2 separate regions of the Homo sapiens genome follow, and region 2 is linked to region 1. Evidence: promoter capture Hi-C in 16 types of primary human blood cells and fetal thymus (Javierre and others, 2016). All regions are on one chromosome and are shown on one strand. The core of a region is centred on a gene start or on the middle of the fragment in contact, and the rest is flanking DNA. Distances in the headings are between cores, read along the strand shown. Region 1 holds the start of PLSCR5-AS1 (PLSCR5 antisense RNA 1). Region 2 overlaps PLSCR2 (phospholipid scramblase 2).

Evidence for each region. The method cuts DNA at HindIII sites, captures the fragments that hold promoters and counts their contacts. A CHiCAGO score of 5 or more calls a contact.
Region 2: a fragment that was not itself captured here is called in contact with the fragment with the promoter of PLSCR5-AS1 in region 1 in 1 of 17 cell types (monocytes); the score reaches 5.8 in monocytes.

Annotation. Positions count from the first base shown.
Region 1 is chr3:146,587,132-146,594,001 of GRCh38, reverse strand. PLSCR5-AS1 (PLSCR5 antisense RNA 1) reads right to left here and starts at 4,400. Exons shown (of 2, transcript NR_046698.1): 1 at 4,214-4,400; 2 at 3,677-3,939. PLSCR5 (phospholipid scramblase family member 5) reads left to right here. Exons shown (of 8, transcript NM_001085420.2): 4 at 1-82; 5 at 2,121-2,282; 6 at 4,188-4,349. The HindIII fragment of the contact is 1,724 bases long and covers 4,211-5,934 here.
Region 2 is chr3:146,460,245-146,467,041 of GRCh38, reverse strand. All of the region lies in intron 1 of PLSCR2 (phospholipid scramblase 2), which reads left to right. Among named protein-coding and RNA genes, the nearest start is that of PLSCR2, 5.9 kb to the left of the region's middle. The HindIII fragment of the contact is 6,066 bases long and covers 1-5,909 here.

The sequences.
Region 1 (6,870 bases), core at 3,151-5,650:
AGATAACTCAGGTCGAGAGGTCATTACAGTGAACAGGCCCTTGAGATGTAACAGCTGCTGGTGCCCTTGCTACCTACAAGAGGTTAGTTACTGGCTCTGGTTGTCCTTTTTGATTTTTAAGATTAGCATTTGTTTCTTTAAAAGGAATTCATCTGGAGCAATGAGGCAATTAACCTGCCAGTTGTTTTAATTATTAATAGTATGTTGCTCCTTTAGGATCAGATCAGCTTGAGGATTTGGTAATTCACTAAACTTTTTTCTTTCCAACCAAAAACTATGGTGGCTTTCATGATATAAACTGTTGAAGACAGCTCATGCATCATGTAAATGAGATAGACCTCTGGAATCTCTATAGTAGTCATGTAATTGTAATGTCTACAGGTTCCACCATTGGGCATATACACCCTTTGTCTTCTCCAACTGGAGCAAAGTCCAGGAAATGCTAAGTGATATTAAACTCCTCTAAGGTATCCTCTTGGATAGGTATTATTATTTAGTATGGAATCTCACAATGCATTTACCCATTTATGACAAAGCCCAAGGTTTGGCAAGACAATGTTATTGTTCTACAGGGAATAATTCAATTATTTTATTTTAATATATAATAGATTTACGTTATTATTTAGTACACCTGTAATAATAACTTTCATTGACTTATGCAGTTAAATTGACACAGAACTTTTACTTACTTTACTGGCTTTGATACCATGATATTCTACTCATGAGCAAGAACAGAATCATGAAATCTCTAGGAGCTAGAAATAATTACTCTCTACATTTGGCAGTCAAGGAAGGAGAGTGGAGGTGACTACCTATGACTATACATTCAAGAAATCAGGAAATATTATAGATGGGACTTGAGCCAGGTGTCCTAATTTAAGCCCAACCTTCTCTGTTAGAACCTGTGGATAAGTACTGGCCTTAGGGTGATGGGAAAATATTAATATGAAAGATGGTTATTTAGGGAAGTTTCTAATAACATATATCAAAGCTAATTCTCCAACTATTTTTAGGTAAGCATCTGACTAAGTGATAAAATGATTGAAGTGCTCGTGCATGGAGCCCAAGAATTTCCATCCGTCTACTGAGGATATTTAATATTAATATGCCCCAAGAGAGTGTAGTCATTATGATCACAGAAATATGCTCATTTTAAAATTTTTGATAATTAACTTTTTCTTTAATGGTAGTCCAGGGTCATAAATTAAACATAATATATTACTTGATAACTATTAGTAACTTTTAAAAAAATTTGATCAATAGCAAATTAATAACTTTAAAAGTGATCCCAGAGCAAATCTATATTAATTCTAAGCAGTCTAGTTGAAATCACTTTTATCTATCCAAGAACATTATAGACATATGCATAAGACTATGAACTTCATAAGAAAAGTCAAAATGAGATCAGATGATGGCGATGTCTTGGTTTAAAAGCAAACATTTAAAAAATTTGTACCCACCCCCAATTTATTTTACAAAATATTTGATTGGGTTACATAAATATGTAAAGGTAATGGAGTCAAATGCTAAAGTAATGCCGGATAATGCAAAAATCCAACTACTAGTCTCGAACACTTTGGAAGCCACAAACCAGCAATCAAACTGGTGTTTAATGACTATAACTCTGCAAGAAGCATTTGTTTTTAATTAAATATAGATAATCTTGGAGCTTATAATCTTAGAGAAAAAATATGAATACTCAATAATTGATAAAGGAGACTTAAAATAGATGTGTGTTGTGGCTACAATTAAAAGGAGTAGATATGAGTAACCACATAGGAACAGCTTCAGTGGTTGACCAATGGTTGTACTTGGGATAAAATGGCAAAGAAGCCACTGTCCTAGGGTCAGAAGATAGTCGTGGGGTAGATTCTCTTTAGGGAAATAAGACATAGACTTTTAGTGCACAGTGCTAAACGTATGTTTATACAGTGAATTTCTTTGTTTTCTGTAAAATATTTTATAAAATCTGTATCCTTAGAAGCAGGTATTTAGAATGATTTGTAGAATATCAAAATAATTTTATAACAGTATATTGTTTACAGGTAAATTGACATTATAGTAAAATTAAAATATGATAACCTAAGAAAATCTTATTTTATCATTATCTCTTCTTACAGTTAGAAATCCAAGCCCCTCCTGGTACTATAGTTGGTTACGTTACGCAGAAGTGGGACCCCTTTCTGCCTAAATTCACAATCCAAAATGCAAACAAAGAAGATATTTTGAAAATTGTTGGTCCTTGTGTGACATGTGGCTGTTTTGGCGATGTGGATTTTGAGGTACAATTGACAAAATGAAAGAAGTTTTCATTTAGGTCCTGATTTTTTTTTGCAACATAATTCAATTTTTTTATGTTCAAATTAATTTCATTTAAAATAAGTTCAGAAAATGACATATTTGTAATATAATGTAATCAGCCCATATTGTACATGCTAAGAATAGGAATATGTAAATCCAGAGATATAAAGTCCAAGGATTTTTTAAAAATAATATTACAAAATTTATCACCTTGGCCATCATATCTGTCATAGACCAGTGTAAGTATTATCCAAAGTAATATTAATAAATTTTACTATAATAAAAGCATGTTTAGCTAAATATAATTCTATGTGTTCTATGGACAAAGCTACTATATCTCTTTGATTAGAATAGTAAATGTGTTGCTATTTTAATGTGTGCAAGACTTTGAACATCAAAAATTTTTGGACACATAGCTTTGCCTTTTTAAGATAACCAATATTTCCTGATTTTGAAAATTAGCACTTCATTCTTGTTTCAGTATGTTTTATTTATGTAGAATCACAGGACACATGGCAATAAAGCCAATATATACAGTTTAGAATCACCTAAATTATGTATCTTCTTTCCTATGGGCCTTGAGATCACATATCCCAGTTTAGATCTCATTTCAGCAGCACGTTACATTAAAACAGCATTAACTCAAAAGCTGTGTTTCTAAGACTTGCTAAGTTAGTTTTGTAAAAAAAACAAAAAAAAAAAACAAAAAAAAACCTTATTCTCGTATTTGTATAAATTGAATATTTAAAAAATAGAAAGTTGTAAATTTGATCTGTAGCAATATAAACTATCTTAACAGGTTGTCCTGGACATACAACTTAGGTAGAGGAGACAGCCTAATTGAAAGTGTATATTTATTTTTCATCCATTCATACATAAATATCTCAGCAAGGGCATTTAGTTCTCAGGACTTCAGGAAACACTATGCACGTAGAATACAATGCAAATTTTGCAAACTGAGCTGTTCCAACTTCACCCTATCCCCAAAGGATTTGGCATGACTTTCCTACGAGTAATATGATTGAGGAGGACTTTAAACATAAGAGTTTTAGCATTCATGCTATAGAAATGTCCTAAGTAACCCTCTCTATTCTCTATCTTTTACTACCCTGAAAAAAGTGATAGTTTCTCTTGAATTACTTTCAGCATCAGGATGGGAAGCAGAATAAACAAACAAATAGCTGATAAAGTTGATTTGTGAACTCCTTCTAGCTGAGAAGGACTGATTGATGTCTAGTTGGTCTTAACTTCCTATATGGTACATTAACCAGGAGGATTTTTTTAATGTAAAAATAGGATTTAGGATTTGTTAGAAAGTATTGACCTAATAAATGTCTGAGTATAATATAAAAATGTGATTTAACAATGGCCAATAATATTTAAATGTTTTAATAATTATAAAATTTTAGCAACTGAAATTTGAAAGTTTACAAATTATGCCTAGAAATTAATTTAATTCCTTCTGAAATATTTTTTCAAACATATCTTCTTTTACATTTTTAAGATGGAGAATTCAGGTTTAAAATCTGGACCTCAAGTAAAGAAATCGCCTTCATGCTTAGATGATACAATTGAACTATGTACCTGCTGCCATCTTGTGGTGGCTGAGCCTTAATTATTTATCCTGATATTCTCCATCTGCATACAAAAAAGAAAAAGAATTATGATGGACTAGAAAACTGTCAAAAAAGCAAAGTTTCTAAAAAGTAAACTGAAAAGCTAAATTTACAAACCTATGCTTATATGATGGAATGAATAACATGGAATTGTCATTTTGAAGATGACAAATAAAATAATTCAAATCTCTCATGAAGTAAACACCCTCAGAAGTATAAAACCAACTTTTTTCACTGTCAAATTTAATACTCCTTATTTTCTTTCTAAAGGTGAAAACCATTAATGAAAAGCTTACAATTGGGAAGATTTCAAAGTACTGGTCAGGATTTGTAAATGATGTCTTCACAAATGCTGACAATTTCGGAATTCATGTTCCTGCAGATCTAGATGTAACAGTCAAAGCAGCAATGATCGGTGCCTGTTTTCTCTTTGTAAGTATGGGCTTTGAGAGCATGAGTGATTTGTTATTCTCCCTCTTGCTTGTTAATTACAATATAGCCTATCCCATTTACACAGTTTTTACCCCCAAAGAGTATATTTTATTCATAGAAGGATAGCTTAGGACCAATGTTCTTCAAAAATTAGAATTTAGAACCCTGCATTTCTGTTAGGCAGCCCCTCTTCAGTGATCTCATATCCCCTTTCTCAAAGATTGAAGTGTTATCACATCCTATTCATCATTTCTTTAAAACCTAGTTTCCCCTTGCTTTTACGTTCAATTTAGATTTTTGGCTTATTTTCACTTGAACTAAAAAATATGCAAACATAAATATCACATGATTTATCCTGGATAAAGTTCCAGACTGGTTCATTGCATAATAGTGAGCTAGATGATATTAAGAATGTTGCCTTCTCAGTGTGAACATAGACACATGAAATGATTTGATGAGTTAATAGGTACCAGTTGCCATTATTTCTAAGATACTATGTTCTTGTTATTACTTTCCAACTTACAATTATATTGAAAACCTTTTCTTCTTTGGTATATGGAGATTGGTGATAGAAGAACAGAAGTCAAATAATACCTGTATCAAAATGCTTGACCTATATCCTGTTCTTAGTTTTCCCTCTAATATTTACCTAATTTCCTACCATTTTCAATGCAGCCATAAAAACTTATGGAGTTTTTATTTGTTGATATATAAACACATGTATTTTCTATAAATACATGAAAAAGATGTGTATACACAGGCACACACATAAGTGATTAAAACAAACAGCATAAGAGTTGAGAGTAGGTTGCAGACATGATGCCTTTTCCCCTAATTATATTAGTGTGCATTTCCTAAAAACAAGGAATTTTTTTACACATCACAGTACTATTGTCAAAGTCAGGCACTAAACACTGATTCAATGCTATTATCTAATCTACAGACTTTATTCGGTTTGCACTGATTTGCATAATGATGTCCTTTCTGACAATAGAAAATCCAAGATCATGAAGTATGTCCATTTTGTCACATCTCATTTGTTTCTTTTCACCTGGAACTGTTCCTAAGGGGTGTGTGTGTGTGTATATGTGTGTGCATGAACATGTGCACATGCATGTGCATTTCCCTGAGTCTCATGACATTGGCATTTTTGTTTTTGTTTTATTTTTTGTTCTATTTTTTGAGATAGAGTCTCACTCTGTCACCCAGGCTGGAGTGCAGTGGCGCAATCTTGGCTCACCACAACCTCTGCCTCCCAGGTTCAAGCGATTCTCCTGCCTCAGCCTCCCGAGTAGCTGGGATTACAGGCATGTGCCACCATACCCGGCTAATTTTTTTGTATTTTTAGTAGAGATGGGGTTTCACTGTGTTAGCCAGGATGGTCTCGATCTTCTGACCTCGTGATCCACCCGCTTTGGCCTCCCAAAGTGCTGGGATTATAGGTGTGAGCCACCTTGCCCAGCCGACATTGGCATTTTTTAAGTGCATAAGCCAATTATTTTGTAAACTGTGGCCTAATTTCAGTTTGTGTCATGGTTAGATTCAGGTTATGCACTTTTGGTAATCATGAAATTTTTATAAAGCTTAAATTCCTTCTCATGTTTTATTGTTTTCTGGGGTTTCAGAATGCTAAATCTGATTGTTTACATTAATGCCCTATTTACTGAGTCTCTTCTAATGATATTTGGAAAATATATGAACTAAAAATTATTCCCTGATGACTTCACTGAAACTCAGAATTTAATACATAGATATATATGTATATATATATGCATATATACATATACATATACATATACAAGTATGTATATTAGGATTATTTCTCCAGGATTTCAGAGGAATTATTTTAACTTACCAGTCTCCTATTATTGGTAGAAGATGGAAGTAATATCTATAGAGTGCTAGGTTTTTAAACTTACTAAGTTGTCACTTACTCTCAACTCCCATTTTCATCTGCAAATCTAACCAGCTTAGTCCACCTTGCCTGTTGCCTAATGTCATCTCTTCCCTATTCTCCTCTATCCACTGGACAGTGCTTTTAACTTGTCACCCTTCCTTTGCTTACTGTTCCCATCTTTGATCATTCTGACTTCAACACCAACCCCTCCACACACACACCCTTTCCCCAAGATCTTCATTAGGCCTTTCTGATTAAGCCCCACACTTAACGTTAATATTTAGAAATAGATCCTTTTTAATCTGCCCTACTCACCTATTTTACATAACAAGCTGATAGTTAAAATGTACTGCCAAAATTGGAACTACAGTTCTCTGTATTTTAAACCTTATCAGTTTTTCTTATTGTTTCAGAAACCCTCTAAACATATGTTCTTCTTGAAAAAGCATGTATTTCTTAGTCCATATGCTTTGAGAGATTGATGAGATGTAGGTTCCGTAAAGGTTGATCTAGGTCATACTCAAAGTGTGGTGCAAAGTGCAAGCATCTGCACCACCTAGAAGCTCGCTCAAAGCAAAGAATCTCAGATCCCACCCCAGATGCATCAGGACCTGCACTTGAACA
Region 2 (6,797 bases), core at 1,627-4,126, 130 kb after region 1:
TAACAACTGTGCTTTTCATTTCCCAAAATTTGTTGTTAAAAACTGCTTTTAAAAAAGTTTTGCCTATCCTAGTTAAAAACTAATTGATCATGAGACTAAATTGAAATTCAAGATATTTCTATCTTACGTAAGAAAGATACCTTAAAGATAACCTCTAACAACTTTCACTGAAATTTGGCACATTGGGAGAATGTGGGGTTTTTTGTTTGTTTTTTATTCAATGAAATAGGAACATGAATGCAATGGACATGAATCATGAATAATTTCAATTCAGCTAGTTACTGAGCTGTACAGCATTAAGTAAACACTTTATCTTTATGGGCTTAGTTTTCTCATTTATGAAGAAGAAAGGAAAACTCCCATTTGTGAGGGAGGTCTGGGTTGTTAGAAAAGGTTTTTGAGCAGTAATAAAGCAATCAAATGAGAATAACTGACTTTAAGACTCATTTTTGTTGCTTTTGTCTCCTTGGTTTACTTGTTAGTTTTGTAGAACACTTTACTACTACAATTTCAGTTGGGTCTAGTTGATATATTATCTACATTTTAATTCAAGGTTTAATATACAATTCTATAGGCCAGGTGTGGTGGTCCACACCTGTAATCCCAGCGCTTTGGGAGGCTGAGGTGGGCAGATAACGAGACTAGGAGTTTGACACCAGCCTGGCCAACATGGGAAAATCCCGTTTCTACTAAGAATACAAAAATTACCCAGGTGTGGGGGCATATGCCTGTAATCTCAGCTATGCTGGTGGCTGAGGCACGAGAATTGCTTGAACCTAGGAGGCAGAGGTTGCAGAGCTGAGATCGTGCCACTGGCCTCCAGCCTGGGCAACAGAGCAAGACTCTGTCTCAATAAAACCAAAAGACAAACAAACAAACAAAACTGTAAAAGCCTATCTTACATTGGTTCTAAGCATATGTGTTTTGTTTTCTTGAGCCTAGATGCTGAAGTGGATTTTTATAGTAAAACTCCCGGTTACAAGGTGCTTTGCATTAATAACTGGCCTCAGTCACCCTACTTCAATCTCATACCTCACAGATATGGTGTGCTTTGTACTCAAAGGCTCACCATCTTCTTGCCCCACACATGTGTAAAAATGCATCTGTGCTTGCTCTGCTTTACTTTGACTGAAACCACAATTCAAGGGATGAAATGTTTGTCTTCTTAGATGGTAACCAAATCTTTTAAGTGCATAAAATTTACATATCATGTAACTGAATGATGTGAAAGCTATTTAATTTGTGAGTTACCTCAATAAATGTTGCCTTCTCCCTGGGCTATTCACAGTTCCCCTCTGGCATAGCATAATGTCTCATTCTTACTTATTGGTAGGAAGTTAGGCACCTAGAATTCTTGTGATTGTTTTCAGAATGGTAGAATTTTGCTAAAATAATTCAGAACCTATGTCTCTGCTTGGGGCTTGAGAAGAATATGAACTGTTTTATATTGTGATTTTTTTTTTTTTTTTGTGGAGGGTGAGTGTGGCGGGAGAGAGTTGTTCTTAGGCATAACTAGGTTTAGGTTATTAATCTGAATTTATTTGTTAATTGTCTATGTTAAAGGCATAGTAATTTTAGGATCTTCCAGAATTAAGTATGATTTCCCTGTGAGTTCCAGGTTTTACTTTAGTTATGTTTGAAAGCAGTAAAACAAAAAATTTTCAGGACCTTAAGAAATAGGTCAAAAGGCTTTAGCTGTGTCAAAAGATAAATTACAACAAATTTAAAGATGTAATTAGCTTATATTAGGAATTCATGAATATGACAGCATCTTATCTAAAAATAGAGAGATGCTACATGCGGCATTGCAGAATAGTCAGTTTTTATAAGGTACCTTGAGCAGGAATGAGGAAATAGCATAATACAAAAAGTGGATTAGTTAACGGTAGATTAGTTCAGGTTACTCTCTTTATAAGGACTAAAGTAGTGGGAACTTCTTTATTATGCAGGCTAAAACTGGCCTGTTTGGAGTCTGGGCTTTCATTTCTCTCCTGATTTCTTGGAAGGTTAAATAAACAACTTAGTTTCAGTTTGGTAATGTGGAACTTTAGCATTAGTTACTCCATTTTGATTTGATCTGTTGAAGCCTAGTGCAGGAGGTCAAACCAAATGGATGTCCTCCTATACAGCTGTTAATATTTAACAACTGTAATATAAATTATGAAGTCAGAACTGGAAATCCTCTGTGCTATTTCTCCCTCTCCCTGAGTGCAGAAGTTTATAATTATCAAATAGTCCAGAGCAGCAATGAAGACATGATTTCTGATATAATTACTTTAAAAGAGATGTACTAATGTGTATATAGTATATGCTGCCTCAATTTACTCCAAATTTATCACTTAACAGAGAGTTAGAAAGAAGTGTGTAGTAATCAGATTGTAACTTGAAGTTCTGTGTTTGTTTTGGAGTAACTATAATTCAAATGGTATAATATATAATATGACTTTATTACAAACTTTTGCTTTGTTTTAGTACAGCATAAAAATATGATTTTCTCTTTCTCTGAAGTTATTTCTAGAATTTACTTTTTAGTAAGAGTGGTGGAAGCAATGATTTAAAGTTATCATGTTAGATTAACTAGCTAATTTAGTCAGGACACAGCCCAATCATGTCCTAAACTGAGTCATGTTATTTCTTGGAATAGACTCATCATATTAGTCAGAATTCTCTAAAGAAACAGAGCAGTAGGATGTAGACATATATATATGAAGAGATGTATTATAAGAAATTGGCTCATGCAATTTTGTATGCTGAAAAGTCCCACCACATTAGAAGTCTGTAAACTGGAGACCAGGAAAGCTAGTGGTCTACCCTAGTTAGTCTAGTTACCCTAGTTAGTCTACCCTAGTTACACATGTTTACTAGCTTATTGTTCACCTTATAGATTAACTGCAGAAAAATGTAAGTTTTAATATTTCTACTCTTCTGACTTGATGAGGTCCACAGCATTGATTTCTGACCAGTTAATGCAAACTGGATTCCGATTGTTCTAAGAAAATCCGGGAAGTTAAATCAGTAACACAAATACATCTTTTGATTTATTTCAGGGCCAAATAAACCCACTTGGAATTATTCAACCTTTGCTGAACTTCTTGAGTAGATGTAACTAAGAGGTGACTATAATTGGAGAATTCTTAAGAGTTTCACTATATTATGAAAATGTGTGCTTAAAGTTGGTAATCATAAAAAATAATTTTGAAATGGCAGGTAAGGAGGTGGTTTCTTCTTGAGAATTCTAGATTTTAGTTGAGGATGTGGAGGGATCAGTTGACTTATTTACCACTTAGGATTGCACAGTAGGAGGAGTTGGTAAAAGGGAAGCCAACACTGGAGTGGGCCTGAGAAGTGGGAGGGCAGTTTGTATTAGCGTGCATGGGTCCAAGATAAAAATTTTGGGTAATGGAGTTTTTGCCCGATGTGTTCATTGTAATTAACAGTCATGAAAAGCACTGGGATCTACAGTAGATGGAGAAAACAGTGACTGGATAGCAGTGGGAAAGACTAGGATGGGGTCAAGGCATCAGAAGGCAGAATTACTGAGTAGAATATTTGCTGTCATTTATGTTTCTGTAGAAATACCAAGTATAGGCAGGGCGCGGTGGCTCACGCCTGTAATCCCAGCACTTTGGGAGGCCGACGCGGGCAGATCACGAGGTCAGGAGATCAAGAACATCCTGGCTAACATGGACAAAAAAAATTATTCCGGGCGTGGTGGCGGGTGCCTGTAGTCCCAGCTACTCCGGAGTCCGAGACAGGAGAATGGCGTGAATCTGGGAGGCGGAGCTTGCAGTGAGCCCAGATCTCGCCACTGCACTCCGACAGAGCGAGACTCCGTCTCAAAAAAGAAAAAAAAGAAATACCAAGTACAAAGTTTCACTTGGTGGTCAGGATGCTATGGCTGTGACAGCTCCTGAGAGTGGGTTCTCTGGTAAAAAATAAATAAATAAATACATCTCTTAATGAACAGAGTAGTGTCAGAACTTCTCAAATTTGCTGGTCAGGATTGGCATGACAGGGCCACAGGACCTGAAATTTTCCGAGATAATTGCAGTGGTGTGATCTGATAATTAACCTTTCTTGCTCTTTAGCTGAACCATTCCTGGAGCCCAAGCCCAGAGGCTTGGAAATAAACCACACACTTCATTTAGATTGTGCAGGTTGTGAAGGCTGAAGTTTTAGCTCAATTACCCTTTGGGGTCTTAGCTCGCAGCATTTCTTCATGGCTTTCCTCCTGATTAGACCTTCTTCCTAAAGGCTTTTGGAAAGTGTTCACCATCGGCCGAGCGCAGTGACTCACGACTATAATCCCAGCACTTTGGGAGGCCGCAGTGGGCAGATCACGAGGTCAGGAGTTCAAGACCAGCCTGGCCAACATGGTGAAACCCCGTCTCTACTAAAAAATACAAAAATTAGCTGGGTATGGTGGCGTGTGCCTGTAATCCCAGCTACTCGGGAGGCTGAGGCACGAGAATCGCTTGAACGCAGGAGGCAGAGGTTGCAGGGAGCCAAGATCATGCCACACTACACTCCAGCTTGGTGACAGAGGGAGACTCCATCTCCAAAAAAAAAAAAAGAAAGAAAAGAAAAGAAAAAGAAAAAAGAAAGTGTTCATCGTCGTGGGCTGACCAACAATTTCTAAATTCCTACCAAGGCCACATGCAGCGGTTTATGCCTGTAATCCCAAGACTTTGGGAGGGCGAGACAGGAGGATCGCTTGAGTCCAGGAGTTTGAGACCAGCCTGGGCAACATAATGAGACCTTGTCTCCATAGAAAATAATAATCAATTCTACTGTGAAAACAGGAAGGGGAATGAGGTCAAGCCCAAAGGATTTAAATGGCCAGATAAGGCTCTACTAGATGAATAAAGAGAAATATCCCATGAATGTGACTGTATTGTTTTAGAATATCTTGTTCCAACAGTTGTATTGGACCTACAAATGTATAGACAGCATATTAATATCAGGTCTCTTTCAGAACTATTTCAATCCATGAACAATAAAAGTAAGTAATTTACTAAGTGTTTAATTTCCTCCCTATAATACTAAATGTGTTGTTGACTTGTTCTTTGTCATTTTTTTTTTTAGCTTATGAAAGGATATTATTTGTAGCTGTGTTTTCCCTTGTAAATTCCAGTACTGGGCACTCCTGAAAACTTCGCAAGATATATATGAGATCATGGAACTCACTCTTCTGCTTAAATTCCTCCAGTAATTATCAATGACACCTGGGATAAAATCCAAACTCCTTACTAAGGGTCTCCCTAGATGAACTTCTTCCTATTGCTTTGGTGACAACCATGCATACTCCTCCTTTCTTATGACTCTCCTCTCTCACGAACATGCTAAATTCCTTACAGAGTCAGCGTTTTTACATTTGCTTTTCCTTCCTCCTATAGCATTTCTCGGTAGATCGTCACGTAAAATTTTCCCCTTCTCATCTTTTCGATTTCAACATAAATTATATCCATCTAAAGTAACTTACTTATCCTCTGTCCTTTCTCCCATGTTTTCCCCATCATACCAATATGAAGTCTTTTATAAAAAATTATTTTATTTCTTCCAGAAGTTAACTGTAAGCTCATTGACAGCATATTGACTTTTTGATAGCTGTATCCCCTGATTCCACAACAGAGCCAATCACGAGTCATCTATATTCATTAATCGTAGGAGGAATAAATTATAAAAGCTATATTTACAGTGCATTAGTACTAGGTTAAATTGTTTGCTAACCCTTATTTTTTATTAGTATATGAGCCTGTCACCAGTGTTCCACTTAAATGTATTGCCTATTCTAAGTATTATATTTTATGTGGCATTAAGTATTTATTTAAAATATTGAGGAACATAGTCCCTTGAAATTATTTTTCATTCCTATGGAATCACTACACTGCGGACTATACAAATAAGCTTATGAAGCATCATTGCAATGTACATTTACATGTAATATAAAGATTATACTTATTAAATTTCTTCCTCTATTCTGCTACTTTAGAATTTTTCATCTGTTAAATATTTTGCTTTTCTTCCTCAAACTCTGTTGATTTTTTTACTTTTGTTTTGTTTAATTTTCTCAAATTATGTGTTCTAAAGATCTAAGAGTGACAAATTGTGAAATTTAATTTTGTAACCGCAATATCATAATTGATGTTTTAAGAACAATATCAAGGGAAACAGGAGAGGAACACGCTGTAGATTAAAACTCCTCGTAACCCATTGGCCCAGACAAGCATCTGAAAAGTACTAGGAGGGACGACATGATTTTACATCTATATTAGGGTTTCTCAACACTGTAGTATTTTGGGGTGGATAATTATTTGTTTTCAGGAGGATGTTCTGGGCATTTTAGGATGTTTAGCGGCATCCCTGGCTTCTATCAACCAGCTGACAATATCAGTCTCTCCTCCAGTTGCGACAACTAAAAATGGATCCAAACCTTGACAGATACCCCTTCAGGGGTCAACCCCATCTCCCCATTGACTTCTATACATATAGGATATGTCATTTGTTATAATTCCACAATTAAAATTTTTCACAGGGTGCCTTTGGCTCTGGGAATGCTGACACATAGCCATTATTTTTGGCTTTTTTTTTTTTTTTTCCAATTTCATCTCTCTTTTCCATGAAGGCATGCCACAATCTTCATATAGATCACTTTAGATCATGGTGGGTTTACTTTCACTTTCACAGGTATAAAAGCATATTTTCTATCTGAGTTTTACATAGTAAAAGTAAAGCTCTAGGCCGACTCTATTCACAGTGAACCACCCTCAAAATAGAAGTGAATGTGAAACCACAGA